Regions from separate parts of the Homo sapiens genome. Here regions 1, 2 and 3 are each linked to region 4. Evidence: promoter capture Hi-C in human tissues and cell types (Jung and others, 2019). All regions are on one chromosome and are shown on one strand. Each heading gives the region's core, a stretch centred on a gene start or on the middle of the fragment in contact. The rest is flanking DNA. Distances are from core to core; before and after follow the strand shown. Region 1 overlaps LOC105375411 (a long non-coding RNA gene). Region 2 overlaps LOC105375410 (a long non-coding RNA gene). Region 3 overlaps SLC25A13 (solute carrier family 25 member 13). Region 4 holds the start of DLX6 (distal-less homeobox 6).

Region 1 (3,295 bases), core at 126-2,625, 550 kb after region 4:
TTGGTTATAGTCTCTTCTCGGGTATTTTCCTCTGATTCGGTGCAATAACATATTCAGTAATTCTTTGTATATTTGCAAACACTTTTGCACTCCTGTAGATGAATCTCAGAAACTCAACGAGCAGAAGAAGCCAGACACACAAATGAGGACATGCTGGATGTTTCTATCTATAGAAGCTCCAGAACAAATAAAACTACTATATGTGATAGAGGTTAGAATAACAGTTACTTTTGGAAGCAGAATGAGAGAGCCTGCTGGGATGCTGGAAATGTCTGTTTCTTGCTCTGTGTGGAGGTTACCTGTGTTTATACATAGGTAAAAATCATCAAGCTGTCTGCTTCGGGTTTTTGCACTTAACTGTATGTGAAATATACTTCTAAAAAGAGAAAGAGTCTTAAAAAGGGAAGAAAAATTAATAAATCAAGAGCCTAACTGGAAGAAAATTGTAAAAGAAGACCAAAAATAAGCCCTTCCTCTATTAAAAAGCATCAGAACAAAAACTGTTAAAGTTCCAGCAAAACTCTCAGGAACAAATATATTTAATGCTACTTAAAATGTTCTAATTTTTAGGCCAGACACAGTGGTTCATGCCTGTAATCCTAGCACTTTGGGAGACAGAGGCTGATGGATCACCTGAGGCCAGGAGTCCAAGACCAGCCTGGCCAGCATAGCAAAACCTCGTTTCTACTAAAAATAAAAAACATAGGCGTAGTGGCCACCATCTGTAATCCCAGCTACTTGGGAGGCTGAAGCATGAGAATCTCTTGAACCCGGGAGGCAGAGGTTGCAGTGAGCCGAGATCAAGATTGTGCTACTGCACTCCAGCCTGGGCAACAGAGCGAGACTCGGTCTCAAAAAAAAAAAAAAAAAAAAAAGAATAAAATGTACTTATTTTTAGAAGTAGATAAATGAAAAGTTTCCCAAATCATTCTACAACATAAAAAGGTGACCTCATATTTTTGGCCTGATTTTGGCCACAATATAGAAGTATCAAGTACCCAAATTCTTTTTTTTTTTTTCCTTTTGAGATGGAGTCTCACTCTGTCGCCCAGGCTGGAGTGCAGTGACATGATCTCGGCTCACTGCAGCCTCTGTCTCCCAGGTTCTAGCAATTCTCCTGCCTTAGCCCCCCAAGTAGCTAGGATTACAGGCGCACAACACCATGCCTGGCTAATTTTTGTATTTTCAGTAGAGATGGGTTTTCACCATGTTGGCCAGGCTGGTCTCGAGCTCCTGACCTCAAGTGATCCGCCTGCTCTGGCTTCTCAAAGTGTTGGGATTACAGACTCAAACAGACACACTTGAACTTGTTAGGAGACACTGAACTAGTCCTCTTTTTTTTTTTTTTTTTTTTTTTTTTTTTTGGCAGAGTCTCACTCTGTTGCCCAGGCTGGACTGCAGTGGTGTGAACTTGGCTCACTGCAACCTCAGCATCCCAAGTTTAAGCGATTCTCCTGCCTCAGCCTCCCAAGTAGCTGGGACTACAGGCACATGCCACCATGCCCGGCTAATTTTTGTATTTTTAGTAGAGACAGGGTTTCACTATGTTGGCCAGGCTGGCCTCGAATTCCTGACCTCAGGTGATCCACCCACCTCTGCCTCCCAAAGTGCAAATTAGCCCTCTTGATCCAGCCTTGCCTCCTTTTACTTTGGACTGCTACAAGGAGGGAAAAACTGAAAAGGCAGCTAAACTTCCCCATCCCCACCCTGAAGACCTGCAACTACAGATTAAGCTTGATCTGGGGGAAGGGAAACAGATTCGAACAATTATGAATGTACATGGTTGACATTTATCAAGTGAGCTCCAGTTATTTGATCACCATGCAAACAAGTCAAGGATTCATGAAAAGATTTTTCAAATTAAAGTATATTCAAAAGCTAGAAATCCATTGGAAAGCATGACACAACCAAGTTCAGGCAGCTCTCTTACAGTGTATAAACACGAATTTTCAGAAAGTTAAAAGTTAAACATTAAAAATTTTATTTTAAAGATCAGTGAGAACAATATCTGTTTATGTCAGTCCAGGTTACTCCTATGATACAAAAAGCATTTGCTATAACATGTTTATATTTCTTCACTAAAGGCCCACCTTTACTCTTTCTTTTTGACCTCTGTACAAATGAAACTTGTGAAGCAATCATTGCATCTGCTGGAGCTGGGAGTCTGTTTGCATTTCCATTCATCCCCTTGTTTCTGGGGGTTCCACATTCAGGCACAGAAAGAAAAAGCTAGTAGAGCAGCAGGCCTTGGTCTGAAATCAGCACTTACAGTATCAGCCCACGTAGAAACAGATCTTTTTGTAAGGTTGAATAGGGCTGATAAAATAATAGATTGTCCTGCTGTGTGGAAGCCATGGGAATGCAGCTAATGGCACTCACACAGGTCCCAGGAACCCACCTAGGAGCTGCAGCAAGAAACTTATGAAAAAGTAAGGTTTAAGCAAGGTGCTGTGGCTAAATTAACATAATATGTAAATGTGTATATGCTTGTGTCAGTAAGGCCTATGTGTATGTTGGGTCTTAACCATTAACACACACATTGGTTTGATATATCCAGCTTCTGTTTCAAGTTCTAGTACTGTCTAGCAATCTTTCTGGAAATATGCCCCACGTTTCAACCATACTTCTGCCAAGAGAACAGGCTCCCAGGGAAATGGCAGTGTGTATTCCATTAAAACCAATCAATTGTATTGTTAAACTATACAAATATTTCCATGCAATTTTCAAAAGAAATATAATTTTCTGAACAATATCACACAAATATCTTGAAACACACCACAGAAATCAAAACGTTCATTTGTAGTCCCCCAGCCCTTAGATTTCTGTCCGTGATTCCCAACTCATTCAGCATCTTAGGAACCAAGCAGGCATATTCTGTAGCTAGAATATATCAGGGCAACTTCAGCCTTTTCCCTACCCCAGGCAAAAGCCATCCTGTGCCTTTGGGCTCTATTCCTTATGTCCTAACAGACAAGAAAAAAAAATGCACAGGAAATGGCTTTGGATTCGGGAGGTGAAGGTGGTGGCAAGAAGAGCTGGTAACTATGCAGTGAGTAACTCATCAGCAAAATTAAAGTGTGTGTGCATGCGTGTGTGTCAGAGACAGAGAGACAAGAGGATACCTGCTTTAATAGGAAAGAATAAGTAGTTCTTGGTAAGGTCTAAATGATAAATATGGCCTCACAGTAAAGCCAAGTCTGCACGTGATATTTCTTTTTGTAAGACTTGTATTACCAAAACTTTTATTTTTATAAAGAATAGTGTCTTAAGTTAAATGGAAAAAGCTATAATGTTA
Region 2 (3,565 bases), core at 542-3,041, 620 kb after region 4:
AGCCTCTCAGGTGCTGCAGTTAAATCTAATTTCAGTGACTAGGAATAACTGAGCCTTGGTCAAAAACAGAAGCCTGCTGTTGTTAAACTATATTATTAAAGTGGACTACCCTAGGAAATGCATTTTATTCAGTAAATAAGTCACACAGGAACTTAGGCTGTATAGCTAGAGATGCTGTTCCTTTGTTTGAGATCTTGCTGGGCTGTATAGTTAGAGATGCTGTTCTTTTGTTTGAGATCTTGCTGGGCTGAGGAGCTTCTGATGGCTTGCTCGCCATCCCATTTAACCAAAGACTCTCTCTCTCTGCTGATGGATGATCACTGGTTTCTTTGCAGATCTGGGAAATGTGTTTGGCTTGCTCCCCGATATGACATGCCTGCTCAGCTTGCTGGCTTTTGCAAAGTTTAGCTCAGTTGTGGGTTTTTCTTGCTTCCAGGAGACTTGGGTTGGCTTTTCACATTCCTAGGTCTCCTGTGTCTGAAAACCTTCAGTTTGGCTTTACAAATGATCCTATAATGTAACACTAGCTCCTGAATGGTAACATAAGTTTGGTAATAATAATAAAATAGAAATAGGGAGCGATCAGATTATTAGCATGGGCATATGAATTAAGCCATATTGCAACAAATCTGTTTCAAGGGTAATAATCTTAGTTTGGACAGAATTGAATTCAAGACCTCAGTCTCGCTGGCATTTCCTACATCCACTTTCTCAAACTATGAAACTTTCCAGATATGTACTTGAATGATATATGTTCCCAACTAGACTTCATGTGGTCTTCTAAAAGAAAGTCTCCTCTCAACCTCTTTTTTCAAATGCCCTGATATTTTTTGAGTCCTAGGTAGCTGAATATCCTCCAAAGTTATATATAAGAAGGTCCCCATACCTCTGTGGTCTCCAAGGACAGAGATTACTGTTTCTTTTGTTCATCAGGTATCTCTAGCCTGGCACATGAAAGGTGTTCAAAAAATATTAGCTGGTTTAACAAATAAATGAATAAATGCAATATGAATAATTATAATTACAATTACAATACTTTTCTCAAAGATTATTGAAAGAATTATTTGAAAACATTCATGAACTTTTAAGTCTTATGAAAGTGAATAAATTGGATTCACTAGTGCCATAAACCATGGTTAATTCCACACCTTCTCTTTATGTTATGTCCAATGAGAAGTGCAGAAAGCACATTTACACAACTCTAATCGTCTTTTGTTTATATAAAAACCTGTTTCTAAGCAAAATTATACAAGTGACATATTTCATATTTGCTGCCATTCAAACCTCCTTTTATTAGTGCTGCTCTATTTTGAGGGGGTATCAATTTCCAGGGGCCCAAGGCCCTCAGAGAATCTTGTACATTTTACATAATTAGTTTTGAAGATTCTCTCATCCTTACTGCAGACACTGAGCATTTGCTACCATTGCCTCTTCACCATCACAGCTTATCTTTCCTATCTTACATTCTTTTTTTTTTTTTTTTTTTTTTTTTTTTTTTTCAGACAGAGTCTCACTCTGTCACCCAGGCTGGAGTGCAGTGGTGTGATCTCGGCTCACTGCAACCTCCACCTCCCAGGTTCAAGCGATTCTTCTGCCTCAGCCTCCCGCGTAGCTGGGGCTACAGGTGCATGCCACCACACCCAGCTAATTTTTGTATTTTTAGTAGAGACGGGGTTTCACCATATTGGCCAGGCTGGTCTCAAGTTCCTGACCTCATGATCCACCCACCTCGGTCTCCCAAAGTGCTGGGATTACAGGCATGAGCCACCGTGCCCAGGCTCCTATCTTATATTCTTTCTCAGCATTAAAAAGCCAACCTTAAAACTTTGTGTATGTGGTCATGTTATCAGCGGGTTACTACTTAATGTGATACTTCCCACGTGGTGTGTGTGTCTTTCATTAGGAGCAGCTACTTCAGCCCTCCTGGCAAAATGGCAGGAGAATATTGGCTCTTCCAAGAACACTTCATATGGTGCCACATTGACAGCTACCTATTTTATCTGTGCATAAATCCTGCCCCAGTAACACACACTAAGGTGTTTCTCATCTGTGCTCTAAATGGATGAGAAACTAGGTTCAGATGGTGAACTAGGAGACTCGGGCAAATTGCCCCCTCTCTCTCTGCCTTAGGTTCTTTACCTATAAATTGAAAAGTGGGGAAGGTAGTGCCCCAGATTTTCTCATCTTTTCTGCACCTAAAACAGTAATGATTCTGAGATTCACTGGAATATGCTTCATATAAAATAAACCAGGTTAAAAGGGAAATCCTTAAGAGATACTGCTGTTTTTCTTACACTTGTCATTAGACTCTTTATGATAATAGAATAATTTAGGAGCCAAAAGTATAATATATATTTTTTGCAGTACATAAGCTTTATGAAGACAACAAAGTGATTTTTGAAGAATGACCAGCCAGGTGCTGTGGCTCACACCTGTAATCCCAACACTTTGAGAGGCTGAGGCAGGCAGATCACTTGAGCCCAGCAATTTGAGACCAGCCTGAGCAATAGGGCAGAACCCCATCTCTACAAAAAATTCTACAAAAAAATTAGCTGGGTGTAGTGGCATGTGCCTGTGATCCCAACTACTCAGGAAGCTGAGGTGAGAGGATCACTTCAGTAGGGAAGGTTGAGGCTGCAGTGAGCTGAGATCATGCCACTGCACACCAGGCTGGGTGACAGAGTGAGACCCTGTAAAAAAAAAAAAAAAAAAAAAAAAAAAAAAAAAAAAAAAAGAATGACCAAACTCATTCTCCAAAGAGAACTGAAGAATATAAATTTTACTGAACTATACAGAATATATTCCACAGTGCATTCTGATTACTGCTTTTATTTCCTCCGCTTTCAGGATCTTGCGACACCTAGAATGATTCTTCAAGCCACTTATTCTTTGTGATAACACATTTCTATCATAGATCCCAGTATATCTAGCCTGAGCTGAGTCTTCAGCCTTATCAGGACTATCATCTGCAATGTGAGAAACAAAGATCTAAATTTCCATTTTTTTGTGGAGGAATTACTTCCTAGTTGAGATTCTTTCAACATACAAAAGCGGGAACACCATGAAACTGTCTCTTAAAAAACATAAAATATGCCTGTTGCAAGATGCGATTGTAATGTTATTATTCAATCAGTTTGTGTCCTGCATAGTGAAGGCACATGTACACAGATATGTTCATCGGGGTAAGGCTAAACTGCTGCATCAAAGAGGATCTCCCACAACCAAAGCTTACAGGCTTAAAGAAACAAATAAATTGACTTTTTGGTCATGTCCCAGCCTGAGATACATGTTGCCAGATGGTACCTCTGCTGCATGGTGGCCATTTAGGAACCCAAGGTAAAGGTGGCTCACCTGTGCTCAATATCTGTTCCCTAGTAACAACCTAAATTCCACTTATGAGCTTAAAAATAGACCACAAGCTGATAATTTTATCACTTTGTGTTTAAAATGTGATCCATAAATCCTCTTACCTCTTCGCCATATACATTTGCCTCTCTTTTTCAAAAAATGATGGCATAGTGACTATTTTTATGCCGTCATATGTAGTGGGTAAGCTATTGATAAA
Region 3 (3,125 bases), core at 232-2,731, 700 kb after region 4:
AAGACTCTTTAGTACCTCAGCTTCTTTATTTGAAAAGTGGGGATATTACTCACTCTTCCCCTTAAAGAGTTTTAATGATACAGTATATAAATGAAATAAGATAAAAAGCCATTAGCATAATGCCTGGCATAGAGTTAAGGACCCAGTAAAAGTTAGCTGGTCATTGTTATCGTTATAATTAATAATAAGTGATCCGGCTCCAAAGACTGCCTCTGTGACCCTCAACTTTAGCAGAATTAGTGTATTAATTCTCCTGCCACTCTGCCTTATGATAGCATGTATCATCATACATTTTGTACCAACCACTTGTCGATAAGTCAGCTTTCCCTGCTTGGGGCAGGGTTTCTGATTTATTGGGTGTTTTCTCCTCGGTGCCTGGCGCTGGGCCTAGTACACTGCAGCTTTCCCATAGGTGATTGTGTTGCATGGATGAGCAAGTAGAGCATCACCATCTAAGGAGTGGTTGTTAGCTGGGGGGTGGGGTAGTTTGGCCCCCAAGAGGATTTCTTTTAGCAACCTCTGGAGACAGTTTCTTGGTTGTTGCAGCTTGTTGGGGAAGGGGTTGCTACTCCCATCTAGCAGGTAGAGGTCAGCTTAATAACAATAATAGTAAAATCCAGAACTAGTATGTTTCAGGCTCTTTTGGCATAACAGAACCCAGCTAAAACACCACCATTCATTCTTAACTGTTATACTCTGCCTCTTAATATCAGAATTTTAATGATGATGGCTTTCTAGTTTATGTTCTACAACAGAGCAGAGTGAAATCTAACATACATCACAACCTACTGAATCCTTCTGATAAACATCTCTAGTGCCTCTGAAATGACTCGCTGATGTAATTACCCAGTGGGTTAACATTTGTGGTGTCTGATACTTTATAAGTCAACTGTTGAGTGAAATGAAGTTTTGCCAGCTGATTACATAGAAATGTTGTGGTTTGAAGAATGCTTAACAGGGCATCTTGTCTTTGTACTAATTTATATTTCAGTAACTTTTCCCATAATGACTGCTCTTCATTTATTAGGTCGTAGGGAAACTGTAGGATGAAGGATGAGTGACTCAGTGGTTTCAATAAAAAATTATTTTCTTAAGTTTGAGATACCTTTTTCTTCTTCTCAAGTTAATGGTAACTGTGGTTTTAGGGAATTCCAAACTTTCTTTTGCAATTACTGATTGTATCAGTCAGGGCTCACTCGCAGAGAACAGAATCTACTCTAGCTGGTTTAAGCAGAGAGAGATTTATTACAGGATATTAAATGGCTTACACAATTTGTTGGGAAGGTAAAGAAACAGACTTGAGGTTGAGCTCTAAAGAATGACGTCTAGAGTCTCAAGCAGAGCAGGCCACCAAGACAGCAGTGACCTCCTGTGCAGTCACAATGCTGCCTGCCAAGTGGAGAGTGTTTCAGGACCATGTGGCCACTGACATGGGAGGGCAGGAGGTTGCCACAGGAAAACTAGACACTTCCAGCAATGGTGCGTGCTTGGCAGAAACAGCAGAAGGTGCCCCCCAACTCCCAAACATTTGCCAAATCTCACTCAATTTCATCTAATTGATGGCACATAGGCCGCATAGCAGCAAGGGAGTCTGGGAATTGTAGTTTCAGCCTTCTAGTGTCTTTAGTATAGGAAGATAAAGAAGGAGGGTGGGCCCCTGCTTCTAAGTGGTTAGGTTACACCCAAGAATACTTTTCTTTGGGATTCAGGGCCATCTACTGCACTATTTCCTCAGGTTCAAAAGACTATGCAGGACTGTTTCTCCTTCTCTCTCCGTTTCCTGCTTGTCACTGCATGCTTATTTACACCCACCCACCCACACACACACCCAGAAGCTTGCTTTTGATGAGCTACCTCTTTGAGTTTGTAGTTCTTATCTAAGGCAAATATTTACTTTATGATAGTAGAATTTTCAGTGTAAGTCTGTGCTTGTCTTGGCTTTCAGATGTTTCAGGTTTGGGAGGGTGACTGGGGAAGTATTGCTGAGGAAGGGCTGTGCTGTACAGTTGGTGACGTAGCAGCTGAGGTTGGGCCTCGGGTCCTAACGCAGTTGTTCTCAGTCCACCCACACATGGTAATTTCTTGAGGGAGCTCTAAAGATATCCATTCTAGAAATTTTCATTTGATTGACCTTTGGTATGGTTTGGGTTTTGTAAAACCTAAAAGCACCTCAGGGGACTTGAATATGCAGCGAGGACTGAGAACCTACATCTTATAATCCGTACATTAAAATTGGACATTATCTAAAGCTGTGGTTCTTAAACTTTAACTGCATCAGGGTCACCTGGAGGGCTTGTTAAATCATAGGGGATTGCTGGGCCTCACCCAGTTTCTGATTCTTTGGGTCTGGGATGGGTGTGATAATTTGTATTTTTAAAAGTTCCCAGGTGATGCTGATGGTCTCCACACTTTGAGAACCATTGGTCTGAAGAGAGTTGCCTATTTTCATTGTAAATGTCAGATTTTTACTGACCTGAAAGACTTTATTCTATATTCAGCACTTCCAGAGAATCTACTTTGTTTCCTGATCTTTGCCAGAGTTGGGGTTGATCTGAGGAGTAAGGTGCCCTCACAGAGATGGTGGTCTCACATCTCTACAGCCTCCCAGTGAAAGAGGAGAGCTTTGCTTTTCTTTGCATTTTATTTTTCAAATTAGCATTTCTTATTTTCGTGTAGGTTTTCTTATATTCTTCCCCACCATCCTCTCTTAGATCTGACAACTATTTTGAATACACCATTCTATACCACTGTGATTTGTTAAAGTAATGAGCCTGCAACTGTGGCTTGATTCCCTTGTAAGAAAGTCTGTTTAAAAAATATTCCTACAGGTAGGAATTTTCTGGTGACCCCCTACCTATGGCTGCTCTAACTCATATTAGGAGAGTGAATTCATTTGTCCTGAAAGATGACTTTTGTATTCTTCTTGCCATGTTCTCCCCTACCCCCTGCCTTTTTAAAAACACCAGTTCTTGAAATTGTGTTATTGTTTTTCTTTTTATTTCTAGGATGTACCTACCTAGTATGTGTTTTGCAAACGCTATTGATGACTTACACAATTATAACCAGTGTTTATCTTGTCAAAAAGTTTTACATATTCAGTGATTCTCAAATTTTGCTCCTGTGGA
Region 4 (3,207 bases), core at 189-2,688:
TAGATAGGGGGCCCGGTCAGGGATGAAGGTGAGGGACACTTTAAAGCCCACTGGAAAGAGCCTGACTGTTACTAGTTTAACCAGAGCGAAAGCCAGGCCAGCTTCCCTCCGAGTCACTGAGGAGCACGGGGCGCCCCACGCAAAGTAGGCCACTGCCTGCCCAGCGTGGGCTGGGAAGCAAAACACGCTCCCCAGTTCCGGCCCAGAAATGTCCCCAGCCGGGTCAAACGTGGGTTACAGCCTGGAGGGAAGGAGCAAGGAAAAGGGCGCACAGACCCAGGAGGCTGGAGAGCGCAGTGTGGACTAACTCGTCGAACGAAGCCTGCGCCGGGCCCGGGACTCAGCCCGAACTGCGCGTCGGAAGCTGAGGGTCCGCGGCGGCGGGAAGGGGCCCGGCTGGGAGAGGCCGGCAGGCAGGCGCCAGGCGAGCGGGCGCGCACGGGGCCCGGCCAAGGGCGCGCGGGGCCGCCTGGGGGAGGGGGCCGGCGGAGGCCCGGGCGTCGAGGAAGTGAGCGGGCGGGCGGGGTAGGGGGCAGTCGGGAGGCGGGAGAAGCGAGCTGCCCCAGCGGCCTCTCACCTGTGTCGTCCCCTCGCGTCTGGGCGGCTGCGCTGCTGTTGTGGTAGGACTGGAGGTAAGGGCTGTGCTGCGAGTGGCTCATGTAGGGGTAGGCGGCGAGCGAGCGGTGGTTGTAGGAGTTCCCTCCGCCCGACGCGTAGGGCGAGCCGTGGTGGTGGTGCTGGTGGTGGTGGTGGTGGTGCGAGCCGGCCGCTGCCGCCGCCGCCGCCGAGTGCAGGCAGTGCAGAGGGTAGTGCGCGCCTGCCATGGCCGGGGAGCTCTGCTGCGAGTGCGGCTGCGGCGGCGGCGGCGGCGGCGGCGGCGGCTGTTGCTGTTGCTGCTGCTGCTGCTGCTGCTGTTGCTGCTGCTGCTGCTGCTGCTGCCCGAACTCCATGAAGGCGGATTTGGACGAGTCCTGGCCTTCCAAGCCGTCAGCCATCGTAGTCATGGTCATCATCAAAAACTTTGGGGGCTGGAGAAAGCCTTCTCCCGGGTTTCCTCCACCCTCCCCCACTTGGCTCGCGCCGCTCTCCCCTCTGCAGCCACCTTAGCTCTTTGGATCCTTGCAAAAAAAAAAAAAAAAAAAAAAAAGAATTTAAAGAGGGGGGTGGAGGTGGTTCTCCCTCTCCCTCGCTCTTCTCTAATATATATATATATTTAATATAAAGAGATATAGTGAGCGGGGCCTTGTTAACTCAAAGGGAGGAGGAAGGAGGAGGGATGGGAGAGGAGAGGGGGAGGGGGGAATCTGCTCTCCCCCCGCCTGCTTTCCCCCCTTGGATTTTTTGGGGGCTGGTGCAGTTTAAGGCAGAGATTTTAAGGTGGATTCTGCGAAAGTTGCGCGTCTGCTTTCAGACTTGATGCAGACGCCACGAGTCGAATGGTTTGTCTCCAAAGGGCAGTGCCTCCCCATTGGTCAGTCGCCCCCTGACGTCACAGGCGCACGGCTTCTACTGGCGTGTGCGCGACTTGCAGAGTTCTTCGCCTACCTTCCGCAGTTCCAATCCCAGCCGGAGCTGCAGCCGGGGGCCGCGCTGTGTGGCGCCCGGGGCCGTTGGGGAGGGAGGCGCCTCTGCCCGGCCGGCCGCCGATGCTTCCCGCCGCAGCTCGTGCCCCAAATCCCGGAGCCCCAGTTGCCAATATCTCAGCCTTGAAACAGCCAACTGGGGGCTGCTCTCTTTCAATCCCTTTGCACCCTTGTAGGTTGCCTGTGCTTAGAAGCAGTGACCCCACCCCCGCATTAAATCCAGGCCCCCCTTTCTTGACGTCCCTGCCACTCTGGTCCTACTACACTCTTGTGGGAGCTCCTTGTCACCGTGGATTTTTCTAGACGTATTTTATTGAAACCACAGAAGGAAGACGAACCCTCACACCTGGGCTCCACCCCACTGGGGGGTGGTACAGAAAAAGAAAAATCAGACCCTGTTCTGGCTCGGTCCCTGCCGTTTCAGGCCGTATTTCTTATATATTGTACAAAAGGTTGTGGGGGGGGGGGGCGTCTTTTTTTTCTTTTCAGAACGCAGCAGCGTGTTCTGAAAACGAATCGTTGGAGGACTGACAGTAATGCATTTTTTCCTATTGAAAACAGAAGCTACTGTAATGCTTTCAAATATATGCAAATGATACATGCGGTTAGTGGTTTGGCAAATCTTGATTACAATATAAACTACCCAAGTAAAAGTGCCTTCGTCCTAAATTTGTCTCTCGATTACAATTCCAATTGATTTTATTTTATTGTCAACATTGTTAATGATAAAAATAGAGTCGTTTTACAGTTATTTTTACTTTCTGGAAGGAGGCAATTAGAGTTCTAATCAGGAATACACAAAAATCTCCCATGATTAACTGCAGTACTTTGTTCAAATTGCTGCTATAAAATTCAGAACAATTTGCCTGTAATGATTATGGACTGGGTTTATTTTGGGAGGTGGAATAAAAGTGGATATAGCATAAATTATCCTCTAATTATACACCAGTGTCGCCTCAATTATCCTCTTATCAAAATGGTTGTCTAACTGCCGCATTTAGTTTCAATTCTCTCCTTTTTTTCTATAAAAAGAACTTCATACCTTGTTATTATTAATCCATTTATTATTTGCAAGGGGATTTATATCCGCACATCCAGGTGGTAGAACCACTTCTCTTTCAAAGATGGACTGGGGAAAGACATTAAGTTCGGAGCAGCCCAAGGCTGCGGATCTAGCCTTTCTCCCTCCGGTCTCCAGACCCACGCAGGTTAAGGCAGCCAAGCAGAGACAGCGGAGCCCCGGTGCGTGGTTCAGGCCTGGTCAACAGGTAGGAGGGCCAGACTGGGGGCCAGGCACAGAGGAGGGCAGGCCCGCCCGCACCGGCGTCCAGGGTCCCGGGTTCCGGGTCCCGGGACTGGAGGAGGTCGCCGGCAGCCCGCCCTTCCAGAGGCTTGAGATTGGGTGGACGAGACCTGAAGATCCTCTCGGTCTGGACCCCGACTTTCGATCTGCTTAGAGACCTAAGCCGCGAGCCTTTGCCCACACGGAGAAACGTACTATCTAATATCTAACAACCCTGTACTGCAGTGTCTGGAGGTTGCGGGAAGGAGACAGTGTCTCCCTTTGGGAAAACTACTGAGGACTTCTGTATATCCTACTTCTTCTGGACTCCATAAGTTACAG

What was found. The method cuts DNA at HindIII sites, captures the fragments that hold promoters and counts their contacts. A contact is called where the count stands out against the background at its distance.
Region 1: a fragment that was not itself captured here is called in contact with the fragment with the promoter of DLX6 in region 4 in 1 of the 25 tissues and cell types used here (neural progenitor cells).
Region 2: a fragment that was not itself captured here is called in contact with the fragment with the promoter of DLX6 in region 4 in 3 of the 25 tissues and cell types used here (mesendoderm cells, neural progenitor cells and small bowel).
Region 3: a fragment that was not itself captured here is called in contact with the fragment with the promoter of DLX6 in region 4 in 1 of the 25 tissues and cell types used here (dorsolateral prefrontal cortex).

What each region holds. Positions count from the first base shown.
Region 1 is chr7:96,451,191-96,454,485 of GRCh38, reverse strand. The region is part of intron 1 of LOC105375411 (a long non-coding RNA gene); the gene reads right to left. Among named protein-coding and RNA genes, the nearest start is that of SLC25A13, 130 kb to the right of the region's middle. The HindIII fragment of the contact is 4,279 bases long and covers 1-3,295 here.
Region 2 is chr7:96,381,235-96,384,799 of GRCh38, reverse strand. The region is part of intron 1 of LOC105375410 (a long non-coding RNA gene); the gene reads right to left. Among named protein-coding and RNA genes, the nearest start is that of SLC25A13, 61 kb to the right of the region's middle. The HindIII fragment of the contact is 6,333 bases long and covers 1-3,565 here.
Region 3 is chr7:96,302,048-96,305,172 of GRCh38, reverse strand. All of the region lies in intron 1 of SLC25A13 (solute carrier family 25 member 13), which reads left to right. Among named protein-coding and RNA genes, the nearest start is that of SLC25A13, 18 kb to the left of the region's middle. The HindIII fragment of the contact is 7,350 bases long and covers 1-3,125 here.
Region 4 is chr7:97,003,784-97,006,990 of GRCh38, reverse strand. DLX6 (distal-less homeobox 6) reads right to left here and starts at 1,438. Exons shown (of 3, transcript NM_005222.4): 1 at 578-1,438. The coding sequence starts at 1,013. All of the region lies in intron 1 of DLX6-AS1 (DLX6 antisense RNA 1), which reads left to right. RefSeq lists a silencer at 588-687 and an enhancer at 2,000-2,721. The HindIII fragment of the contact is 17,411 bases long and covers 1-3,207 here.